Regions from separate parts of the Homo sapiens genome. Here all the other regions are linked to region 3. Evidence: promoter capture Hi-C in human tissues and cell types (Jung and others, 2019). All regions are on one chromosome and are shown on one strand. The core of a region is centred on a gene start or on the middle of the fragment in contact, and the rest is flanking DNA. Distances in the headings are between cores, read along the strand shown.

Region 1 (3,899 bases), core at 1,149-3,648, 580 kb after region 3:
GCCTACAGTGGTAGTAATAGTTGGGGCAAACAATAGACTAATCAGAAAGCATAAATGTGAAATCCAGGGAGTTAGATGCCCACAGGGGGATCTGAAAAGTTCCCATGTTCTTAATCTAGAAGGGCACATACATGTGCAGGGCTGTGTGCATGCTCAGGAAAGAACCGAGAGGGTCCTAAACTCTCACCTCTGGCTGGCCTTAAAGCTGTGCTCAAGCAAGAAGTGAAGGCTTTGCCAGAGTTGTCAACTGCCTGAGAGTGAAGATATACCCCAAGAGATATAGAGGTCCTCGGCAGAGACTGGAAACATTAGTTCCGGGCATTTAAGGAAGTCTTTCTTCAATCACGCAGAGACTTGTTTCCATACATGACAAGGAATATAGACTTTAAAGAATTGGTTCAGAAAAGCCACTAAACAAACATCATGAACAACAAAAAACAAAAAGCAACAAACTCTGGGGGAGGAAAAGAACCAGATTTCAAGAGTTGCCAAAAAATATTATCTAAACAATCTATTTTTCAACAAAAAAATTGATGAGCTATGCAATAAAAAAAGAAAGTATATACCACACACAAGAAACAAAAGCAGCCAATAGAAACTGTCCCTGAGGACGTCCGTACATAGGACTTAACTAGACAAAGACTTTAAGTCAGTCATTTTAAATTTGTTCAAAGAATTAAAGAAAACCATGTTTAAAAAACTAAAGAGTGTAGGAAGATGATATTTGCTATTAAGAATAGCAATAAAAATACAGAAATTATTCTTAAAATATAAAAAAGAACTAGTTAGAAGTCTTGGAGTTGAAAAGTACAATAATAGAAATAAAAATTGACTAGAAGGGGCTCAAGAATATATTTGAGCAGGCAGTGGAAAGACTCAATGAACTTGAAGATGGGTCTATTGAGATAATACGGTCTGAGGAACAGAAAGAGAAAAGAATGAAGAGATGTGAACAGAGCTCAGAGACCTGTGGGACACCATCAAGTGTGACAACATACACATAATAGGTGTCCTAGGAGGAAAGGAGGGACAGAAAGGGAAGGAAAGAATCACTGAGAAATACTAGCCAAAAAAATTCCCAAGTTTGATAAAAACCAGCCAGGAAGCTCGATGACCTCCAAGTAGAATAAACTCAGACATCCACACTAGTCACATCATAATCAAACTGTCAGAAGACAAAGGTAAAAAAAAAATCTTGAAAGCAGCAAAGGACTTGAAAATACATTTCTGAAAAGACATACAAATGGAGACTAAGCACAGAAAAGATGCTCGACATTGTGAGTCATTAGAGAAATGCAAGTTAAAACAATGAAATCCATTTCACATGTACTAGTATGGCTGTAATAGAAAAGATGGACACTAACAAGTATTGGAAAGAATGTGGAAAAATTAAACCCTCATGCATTGCTTATGAACATGTAAAATGGTACTGTTACTGTGGAAAACAGTTTAGCAGTTCCTCCAATGTTAAATATAGACATATCATATGATCTAGCAACATATGCCATTCCCAGACATATACGTAAAAGAATTGAAAACATATGTCTACACAAAAGCTTGTATATAAACGTTTATAGCAAATTGTTCATAATAACCAATAAGTGGCAACAACACATATGTCCATCATTTTATGAATAACTCATAACAGATAGATAACATATTTAAATATGGATAGGTAATAGATAACAGATTTAAATGTGGTATACCCATTCAATGGCATTATACAGCCATAAAAAGGAATATAGTACTGATGCATGCCACAATATAGATTAACCTTGAAAACATTATGCTAAGTCAAAGAAACCAGTCACAAAAGGCCACATAGTGAGCAATTTCATTTATGTGATACATCCAAAACAGGCAAATTCATAAAGACAGACAATAGGTAAGTGGTTGCTGGGGCTGGGAGGTGGGGAGAGGAATGGGAGATGGCTGCTAATGAATGTGGGGGTTCTTTTTTTTTTCTTTTTTTCTTTCTTTCTTTCTTTTTTTTTTTTTTGAGGCAGAGTCTCGCTGTCACCAGGCTGGAGTGCAGTGGCATGATCTCAGCTCACTGCAAGCTCTGCCTCCCATTCACAGCATTCTCCTGCCTCAGCCTCCCTAGTAGCTGGGACAACAGGCGTGTGCCACCATGCCCAGCTAATTTTTGTATTTTTAGTAGAGACACGGTTTCACCATGTTGGCCAGGCTGGTCTCGAACTCCTGACCTTGTGATAGGCCCGCCTCGGCCTCCCAAAGTGCTGAGATTACAAGCATGAGCCACTGTACCCGGTGAATGTGGGGTTTCTTTTGGGGATGATTAAAATATTCTAGAATTGAAGCCAGGTACAGTGGCCTGTGCCTGTAATCCCAGCTACTCAGGAGGCTGAGGTAGGAGAATCCTTTGAGCCCAGGAGTTCCAGATCAGCCTGGGCAACATAGGAAAGCTCCACTTCTAAATAAATAAAAATAAATAAAATGTTCTAGAATGAGATAGTGGTGATGGCTATGCAAGTTTGTGAATATACTAAGAACCATTCAACTACATACTTCAAAATGGTGAATTTTAGGGTATATGGATGACATAACAATAAAAAAATTACCTAAGAATAAAATTAAATGATGCACAACCAAGAGAGATATATTAAATTAAATTAAAGCAGAGAGAGAGAAAAAGGTCCAGATTTGAGGCAGTCATTGAAAACCTATAAAACTGTAAAATGTGGACCCATATTTTCCCACAGTAACAGAGGCTGAAGCTGAGGGGCCGATGCTCCTTTAGAAGGTGCTTGGGCTCCCCAATTGGCCTCATTCCACACCCCTCACTATAGTCACCTGGCTTCATTTGTTTATGTTGTCATCTAGTTCCTGAGGAACTCACAGTGTGACACTTGCAGGGACAAAACCCTGGGGCCACCACATTGGACAGCCCAGTGGCACCACTGACATTGTGTTTCCCGGAAGCAGTGCCCCAAGGACTTTACCAGAGAGGTGGCCCTGCTGATTTGCCCCTACTCGTCTCACCCTAAGAAGCTCCTACCAGCCTGGAATCTTATACCAGCATTTCTGAAACCCCACCCAGGCAGTACAGCCTAGTGGTTCCATGTGGGAGCTCAGGCTCCAGACTCCTGAGGTTGGAGTCATCATCACTACAATGTCTGGATTTGGATACTTGGACAAGTTACTTGATCTCTCTGTGCTTGGCTTCATCCTCATAAATGCAAATGATAACAAGACTGTCTCCCTTGGAGGAGTTTGGTGAGAATGTAATGAATTGATATAGGCAAAGTACTTAATCTGCACCTGGCCTAATAAGTAAATGGTGGCTCTTGTCATTATTGCCTGGAAGATAGCACACATCAGTGAGGTGTGGTGAAAGCAACCGTGAGCTGCTGAGAAATGCAGAAAACAGTCCTGGTTCCACCCCTCTCTCCCTGAAGCACCCTGGACAAGCACCCCAGAAAGGACCCCTTTCCTGTCCCTTTTCGTCCCTGTGAAATGAAAGGACAGGTCACTGGTTGACCTCTGTTTGAGGTTCCTTTCAGCCCAGATAGTCTAGGACTCTGTCATTACCACTGTACTGTTTGCTAGTTGAACAGAAAACTAACCACATTAATCAGGAATGCTTTCAGCTTCCAGGAACAGAAAGCGTAGCTATAGAAACTTAATTACATAACTGTTTTCCTCAAATCTTGAGAAATCTGGGGTAGGAAATTGCTGGTCGTGGTTCAGCATCTTGGAGATGGCATCACCGAGACTTCCACAAGCCTCTTGGCCTTTCCCTCAAGGCTGCAAACCGGCTGCTGCTGCTCCATCTTTCACATCCATCATACCCATCACATCAACTGCAGGAAGATGGGGAAGAGAGGGCAAGACAGTGACTAAATCAAGAAAGCAAAACAGTTTCAGGAAACCCACAG
Region 2 (3,417 bases), core at 915-3,414, 560 kb after region 3:
TTAGGAGTCAAGAGGGAAGGAGACGGGAGCTGCTGACCTCTGACGGCTTCCCCAGGGGGCTCTGGCTGGGCTGCTCAGCTGTGTTGTCTCACAGCATATGCTTCACAGCTCCCTAGTACCTCAGTATCATTCTTACCATAGGACAGAAGACGATGGCAAAGCTCAGAGAGGTTGTGTAACTAGCCTGAGGTCACACAACTACAGAATTTCCATATGGAAGAAACTTTTGGCAATTACCTGGAAGGGGCTTCTGGGGGGCTGTGTGCTGCTGCTTTTGCAGAGCAACGTCACTGTGTATTTGTGGTGGATGTGGAGGTGAGATGAAAATGAACAGACGGTTACAACCATTCCAAGCCACCTCTTGACATCACCAGTGATAATAAATGGTCATCAGCTCTCATGTCAGGACCCAGGGGCACAGGCCTGGGGAGGCTGCTGAGAGACGCCACCGTGCCTCAGCTGTTCGGTGTTCTCATGATCCCTGGTGGGTGTCGGCTCATCCAAGCAGGTGCTCACTCATCCATTCTCTCCCTCACTTCCTCATTCTCTCTCCCACTCTCCCGCTCACTTGCTGCTCACCTGCCACGTCTTCCAGGTAAAGGCGTCTGAATGGGGCCATTCACGGGTTGACTGCTCCTCTCCCACCTTTTCCGTTCTCACTGTCTCCACACCAGACCCCACAACCACAGGGCCTCCAAAGACTCACTTTGCTTCAACTGCTCTCCCCTGCCCTGGGTTTGACTTAAGCAACACCTTTGCTTGACCAAGCATGAAGGTTGCTGAGACAGAAAGAAAGTCTTCATGTCTTGGTAATCCCCCTGGCCTAGGGCTGCCCACTGGCCTGTGTGTTATCCTTCGAGAATCATCTGAGGAGTGATGAGGCCTATCCTAGCAGAAAGAAGACAATTGTTGGGATGGCAGGATGACCCTGTGGGTATTTCTTTACTGCTAACTTGAAAGCATCCTCAATGCCTCAGTGCCCAGTCCTGTATATTTCTTCAATCAGAAGTTCAGTAATGGGGGAACGGAAAGTAAGCAGGAAATAGAAGAAACCAGACTAATTGATCTGATGAGGAGAAAGGGAAGGCAGGTGTAAAGATAGTTGCTGTAAAAGTTGTTGTGAAAACATCTGAAAGAATCATATTCTCTATGGCCACTGGAGCTCAGTAAGATCAAGCCACAGTTTGAATACTGTTAGAATAAGCTATATATAAAAACACATTTTTTGCCTACTGAGGCAGTGGGGCACTTATATAGTCATTTCATTAGTGCCTTGTTTTAAGTAAATATGTTAGAACTTAGGGAGGAGTAAGGACTAGCCTCAGGTTCAAGAAAGATAGGATCATCTTCTCCCAGATCTGTAGCAGGTGTGGAAAGCTCTTTGTTCTGGACTTAGAGATGTGAAGATGAGGGTGAGAGCCTAGAGCTGCCATTGACCATCTTGCTGCAGAGCAAGAGAGTGGCCCAAGAATGGAGCCCAAACCTGAGCAATCAGAGCCAATGATGGAGAGAGCATGGGTCCTGAGAATGTCATTTGACACCTGGATCTACCCATGCCTGCAACCCACACTGCCCCCAGAGTTCTCTGCTAACAGAATCAACACATTTAATTAGAAATCTTCTTTTAAAAAGCTGGGTTGAATTGGCTTCCTGTTGTTTGTAATCTAAAACTCCAGACTCATACTCACCTAAAATTTCAGGAGTCATTGATTAAAAAGCAACATCATGTCCAGTTAAAATGGTTTGTCCACCAGGTTCCATAACAAGGCTCCTAAGGACTGTGAAGTCAGATAGAGCTTTTCCTTCCAGAAAATGGCATTGTGGTGACAATGGTGCAGTTGACCCCTTAGATATAGAGCCAGAGCCAGAGTCATTTTTTTTTTTTTGAGACAGAGTCTCACTCTGTCACCAGGCTGGAGTGCAGCAGCGCAATCTAGGCTCACTGCAACCTCTGCCTCCTGGGTTCAAGTGATTCTCCTGCCTCAGCCTCCTGAGCAGCTGGGATTACAGGCACGTGCCACCACGCCCAGCTAACTTGTATCTTTAGTAGAGATGGGTTTTCACCATGTTGGCCAGGATGGTCTCCATCTCCTGACCTCGTGATCTGCCCGGCTTGCCTCCCAAAGTGCTGGGATTACAGGTGTTAGCCACTGCACCTGGCCACCAGAGTCACTTTTTATAAAAAGAAGAGAAACTTGTGAAAAATCATTCATGATTCCATGAAAGGAACAATTCAATATTAAACAGTAGGCCAAAAGCTTAAACTTTTATATTAAATCCAAATGAGCTTAAAACTATATGGACTGGGCCTGGCAGGGTGGCTCACATCTGTAATCCTAGCACTTTGGGAGGCCGAGGCGGGCAGATCACTTGAGCCAGGAATTCAACACCAGCTTGAGCAACATGGCGAAACCTCATCTCTCCCAAAAATGCAAAAATTAGCCAGATGTGGTGGCACACGCCTGTAGTCCCAGCTACTCAGGAGGCTGAGGCAGGAGGATCTCTTGAACCCTGGAGGTGGAGGTTGCAGTGGGCTGAGATCGTGCCACTGGACTCCAGCCTGGGTGACCGTGTGAAACCCTACCTCAAAAAACAAACAAACAAACAAACAAACAAACAAAAACCTATATGAACTGATTTCTTAAGCCCAAAGAGCCTTAGTTGACCCATCAACTTTAAACTGGAGATAACTGATTTTCCACTGTTTTTCTGTCTGGTACAAAGAAATGGGAAAGTGAAGTGTCCCTCACATAATGCCCACCCAGCAACTGGCCACCTAACAACTTTGAAGTGGCCCAGTGTCTCTTCCACCCTCTCATGGCAGAGACGGAAGCACCAGAGGCTTATGTGTGCCTCAGTGGAGCTTCCATTCCCAGTGGTACTCAGGGCCTCGTGGACTTGCCCCAGAGCAGACTCTTTCATATGGAGCTAAAAAATAAGACAGAAAGCTGTAGGGATGCCCTATGTTTAAGAAAGAAATTACTTTGCATCAAATTATTTAGTGTTTCCCATGGTTCGGTGGCTCTTTGTGCTAAAAGGTCAGACCCAGCAGGGGCCCTGTGCCTTGGTCTGGATTTGTACTTGAAAGAGGAGGTGCTGGAGTGGCCGGGCACGGTGGCTCACGCCTGTAATCCCAGCACTTTGGGAGGCTGAGATGGGCAGATCACAAGGTCAAGAGATTGAGGCCATCCTGGCTAACACGGTGAAACGCTGTTTCAACTAAAAATACAAAAAAATTAGCTGGTGTCGTGGTGGGCACCTGTAGTCCCAGCTACTTGGGAGGCTGAGGCAGGAGAATGGCATGAACCTGGGAGGCGGAGCTTGCAGTGAGCCGAGATCGCGCCACTGCACTCCAGCCTGGGCGACAGAGGGAGACTCCGCCTCAAAAAAACAAAAAACAACAACAACAAAAAAACA
Region 3 (3,586 bases), core at 264-2,763:
AACCAAAGACGTTGGGGCAGTGAATTAGCTTGAAAACAGCTCTGGTCAAATGCATGGATTCTCCCACCAAGAACTCTCTTCTGAAACTCCATATGGTGGATAGTTCTTGCCTTTCAGTATTCAGCTCAAGTGTCACCCTCTTGGAAAAGATTACTTTCCTGACCACCTGATTACTTTTCCTCTTGGAAAAGATTACTTTCCTGACCATGGAAAGCAGTCCTCAAGCCCTCTTTATCACATCTTGCTGTTTTATTTTCAAAATAGTATTTATCAGTATTCCAAAATACCTCACCTATTTTCTTAATTAATTATTTTGTCTCCTCTATTCGAGTATAAGCTCCATAGGGGTAAGGACCATGTCCGTCTTGTTCCCCACTGAATTCTCAGTACCTGGTATGCAGTGGGCACTTGATAAATATTTGTTAAATGATTAAAACTGAAAGATAGGATAGTGATTTTGCTATCAATTATCAAGCCTTTAACTATTAGTTAGAATTCTCCCTCTTTCCATAATCTGAGGGTCCATTCAATCAGCAAATATTTATCGAGCACCTACTGTGCGCCAGGCACTGTTGCAAGCGCAAGGGATACAGCAATGAATAAGTCAGACAAGTATCTTCGCGCTGAAGACCTTGTATTTTAGTGGACTGCTAGGAATAAGCAGATGTCTTGCTCACTACAATGCCTGGGAGATCCAGAACACCTTCTACAATCCTTCCTTGAGGGAAAGAGCTATGGGAGATCCCCAAACCAAAGGAAAACATTCTCCAACGGGCACTTCCAAAACAAGAATCAGGGGTTTCCCTAAACCAGTTGGACGGCTCTTCCTACATGCTCTGTTCACCTAGGGGAACCCCAATCAGCAGAGCTCAGGTAACGAAAAAACTTGGGGCAAGGGCTACTGTTTCTAGGACTTGGAGGTGGTGAGGGGAGGAACCAGGAAACAGGGCGACAAGGAATCGTGGCAAAAGCCCTGAGCTGGAACCCTGAGGAACAAGCTCTGGTTGTCACCAACTTGCTAGGTGACCTTGGGCCAGTCCCGAGCTGCCCGGGCAACACTTCCTCCGGGGGTATAATGAGGAGGAGGCCGGAAGGGTGGAATTCGGGATCGGGGGGAAGCGGAGGCCAGGAGGCCGGGCCAAGGCCGAGTAGGATAGGGCAACGGCCGACGTGCTGAGGCCAGCGCGGGGCAGGGCGGGAGCGGCTCACCCACCGAGCGCCACCTGGCAGGCCCTGCGCAGCTGGGAGTGCTGGGGCCGCTTCACCTCCTTGTCGGCTAGGATCTTCTCCAGGGCCCGGGACACGAACATGCTCTTGGTCTGGCTCTCCTGCATGGCCCCGGCCCGGCGGGGGCTGACGGCCCCGCGGGCGGGCGGCGTGAGCGAGATGGCGAGCTAGGCTGCGGGCCCGGCGTCCCGGCCGGCACCGGCCGCGTCCGTCCGCGCCGCCCCGTCAGGAAGCGACACCTCGGCCCCACGGCGCCGCCATGTTGGAGCGCGTCACGTGACCACGTGACTGGCGAGGCCGCTACGGCCGCCTAGCGTCCGTCGGCCCCGTGACCCCCAGCGGGGCGGAGCCTAAGGCTGGGGGCGGAGCGGAGTCAGGTGGGCGAGAGACAGAAGGCGAGGGTGGAGGGTGGAAGAAGAGAAGGTGGGGAGGGGAGTGGGCATGGGCGAAGGGTATAGGGGACGCGGGGGCTAAAGAAAGGCGAAAGCGGGGAGAGGTGGTGATGGAGATGAGAGGAGAGAAGCGCAAGGTAACGGGAGGTGAAGGGGAGCACGAGAATGGAGATGACGTGGGTAAGAGAGGAGATGAGGAAAGGAAGGGGAACGAGAGGATTGGCAAAAAAGAACGGTGACAAGGAGAGATGATAAAGGGGCAGGAGGAGAAGGCGAGTAGGAAAGAAAAGAGGTGAGGGAGCGAGGACTGGAAGCTGGTGAATGAATGAGAAGTGATCGGGAGTAAGGGGCGTCAGGAGGAAGGAGGAAGGGCGATGAGAAGGCGGCGGCGGAGGGGAAGGGGGGAGGCCCGGCGCGGCGGCTCACGCCTCTAATCCCAGCGCTTCCGGAGGCCAAGGCGGGAGCATCGCTTGAGCCCAGGAGTTCGAGACCAGCCTGGGCAACATAGGGAGACCCTTTCTCTACAAAATAAAAAGTAAAACAGCCGGGCCTGGTGGCGCTGCTTGTGGTCCCAGCTACTGGGGAGGCTGAGGTGGGAGGATCGCTTGAGCCTCGGAGGTTGAGGCCGCAGTGAGCTGTGATGGCACCACTGCACTCCAGCCTGGGCCACAGAAGGAGACCCTGTCTCAAAAAACAAACAAACAAAAAGGAGGTGAGTTAGTTATGGAGGAGATGAGGTGGTGTGGGAAGAGGTGAGAGGGAGGCACAGAGGTAAAAGAAAAAGGAGAAAGACAGGAGGGAGAGGGGAAGTGAAAAGGAAAGAGAGGTAGAAATGAGAGGAGGGGAAAGAGTAGGAGAAAGGGTGAAGGGAGAGGAGGTAGGAAGGGGAGCTGTCAGGAAGAACAGAAAAGAAAGAAAAAGATGAGAGTAACAAGTTAGGAAAACAGGAAAGAGATGGAAAAAGGAATGGTGTAGGAAGGAGGTGAAGGGGAAGGAGGTGAGGAAGAGTGGAAAGAACATGCTGGGAGAATAGGAAATGGAAGGGGTGGAGGGAGAGGGGAGGTGAAAGGAAGACAGAGAGGGAGAGAGAGAAGGTGTGTTTATGTCTATTCTCCACAAGCAGGGTTTCACCACAGCCACTGGCAAGATACACACATCCATATGACCCTCCTGTCACAGCAGCAGTGACCTTGCAGTTCAGTGAACTTCTGTTTATTGAGTGTCGCAGCTGTGCATAGTATACCAGGAAGCACTGACCTCTCTCTGTAGTTTATCCTGTTATAAACCTGTGAACCCTCACAGTGCAGTGAACTGGACCTGGGCTTTGGGAGTCAGGGGAAGAAACCCAGATGGCCAGTGTCACACAGCCTGCAAATGAGTGCTGGGGGACAGATACTCTGGCCCCAAGGCAGCTTCCACTCCATTCCACAATGATGCTATCACAGCAACCATTAGTGGTGTCCCCTGGGCCCCTTCCCCCAAGGGCAGCCATGGGCTTATGCAAAGACAGTTGTCTTCCTTGGAAACCTCAGAGGCACAGACATCCCAGGCAGGCATGCTCCAGTGCTCGGGTCTTAGCTCAGACGTCTCTGGGAAGCCTTCCCTGACCTGTCTCAAGTAGCCCCCTCTCTCCCTAGCTGATGTTTTCCACAGCACTTTCTGAGCTTTTGTACGTGTTGACTATTTGTTGTCTCACTAAAGCACGGTTGCAGAGGGGCAGGCCATATCCCCAGGGCCCGGTCTACAGTCACGTTGAATATTTCATGGCCTTAAATTCTGCAAGTTCCACTGCTTGTAATGCGATTTCGCAGTCACTCCCAGCAAGAGGTAGAGTTTGTTTCTCCACCAGCCTGAACCTAGACTAGCCTTGTGGCTGGTCTTGACCAATAGAATGTGACAGAAAAGAGGCTGCACAAGTCCCAGAGCATCAACAGCCCTGGCTCACTTCTTCCTTTACTGCCTGGGAA

Evidence for each region. The method cuts DNA at HindIII sites, captures the fragments that hold promoters and counts their contacts. A contact is called where the count stands out against the background at its distance.
Region 1: a contact is called between a fragment that was not itself captured here and the fragment with the promoter of ARFGEF2 in region 3, in 1 of the 25 tissues and cell types used here (lymphoblastoid cells).
Region 2: a fragment that was not itself captured here is called in contact with the fragment with the promoter of ARFGEF2 in region 3 in 1 of the 25 tissues and cell types used here (lymphoblastoid cells).

The regions. Positions count from the first base shown.
Region 1 is chr20:48,344,859-48,348,757 of GRCh38, reverse strand. No RefSeq gene overlaps it. Among named protein-coding and RNA genes, the nearest start is that of LINC00494, 13 kb to the left of the region's middle. The HindIII fragment of the contact is 5,036 bases long and covers 1-3,899 here.
Region 2 is chr20:48,362,360-48,365,776 of GRCh38, reverse strand. LINC00494 (long intergenic non-protein coding RNA 494) reads right to left here. Exons shown (of 5, transcript NR_026958.1): 2 at 580-888. Among named protein-coding and RNA genes, the nearest start is that of LINC00494, 4.2 kb to the right of the region's middle. The HindIII fragment of the contact is 7,199 bases long and covers 1-3,417 here.
Region 3 is chr20:48,919,638-48,923,223 of GRCh38, reverse strand. ARFGEF2 (ARF guanine nucleotide exchange factor 2) reads right to left here and starts at 1,513. Exons shown (of 39, transcript NM_006420.3): 1 at 1,214-1,513. The coding sequence starts at 1,334. RefSeq lists an enhancer at 803-882 and silencers at 1,253-1,302, 1,343-1,442, 1,673-1,752. The HindIII fragment of the contact is 23,689 bases long and covers 1-3,586 here.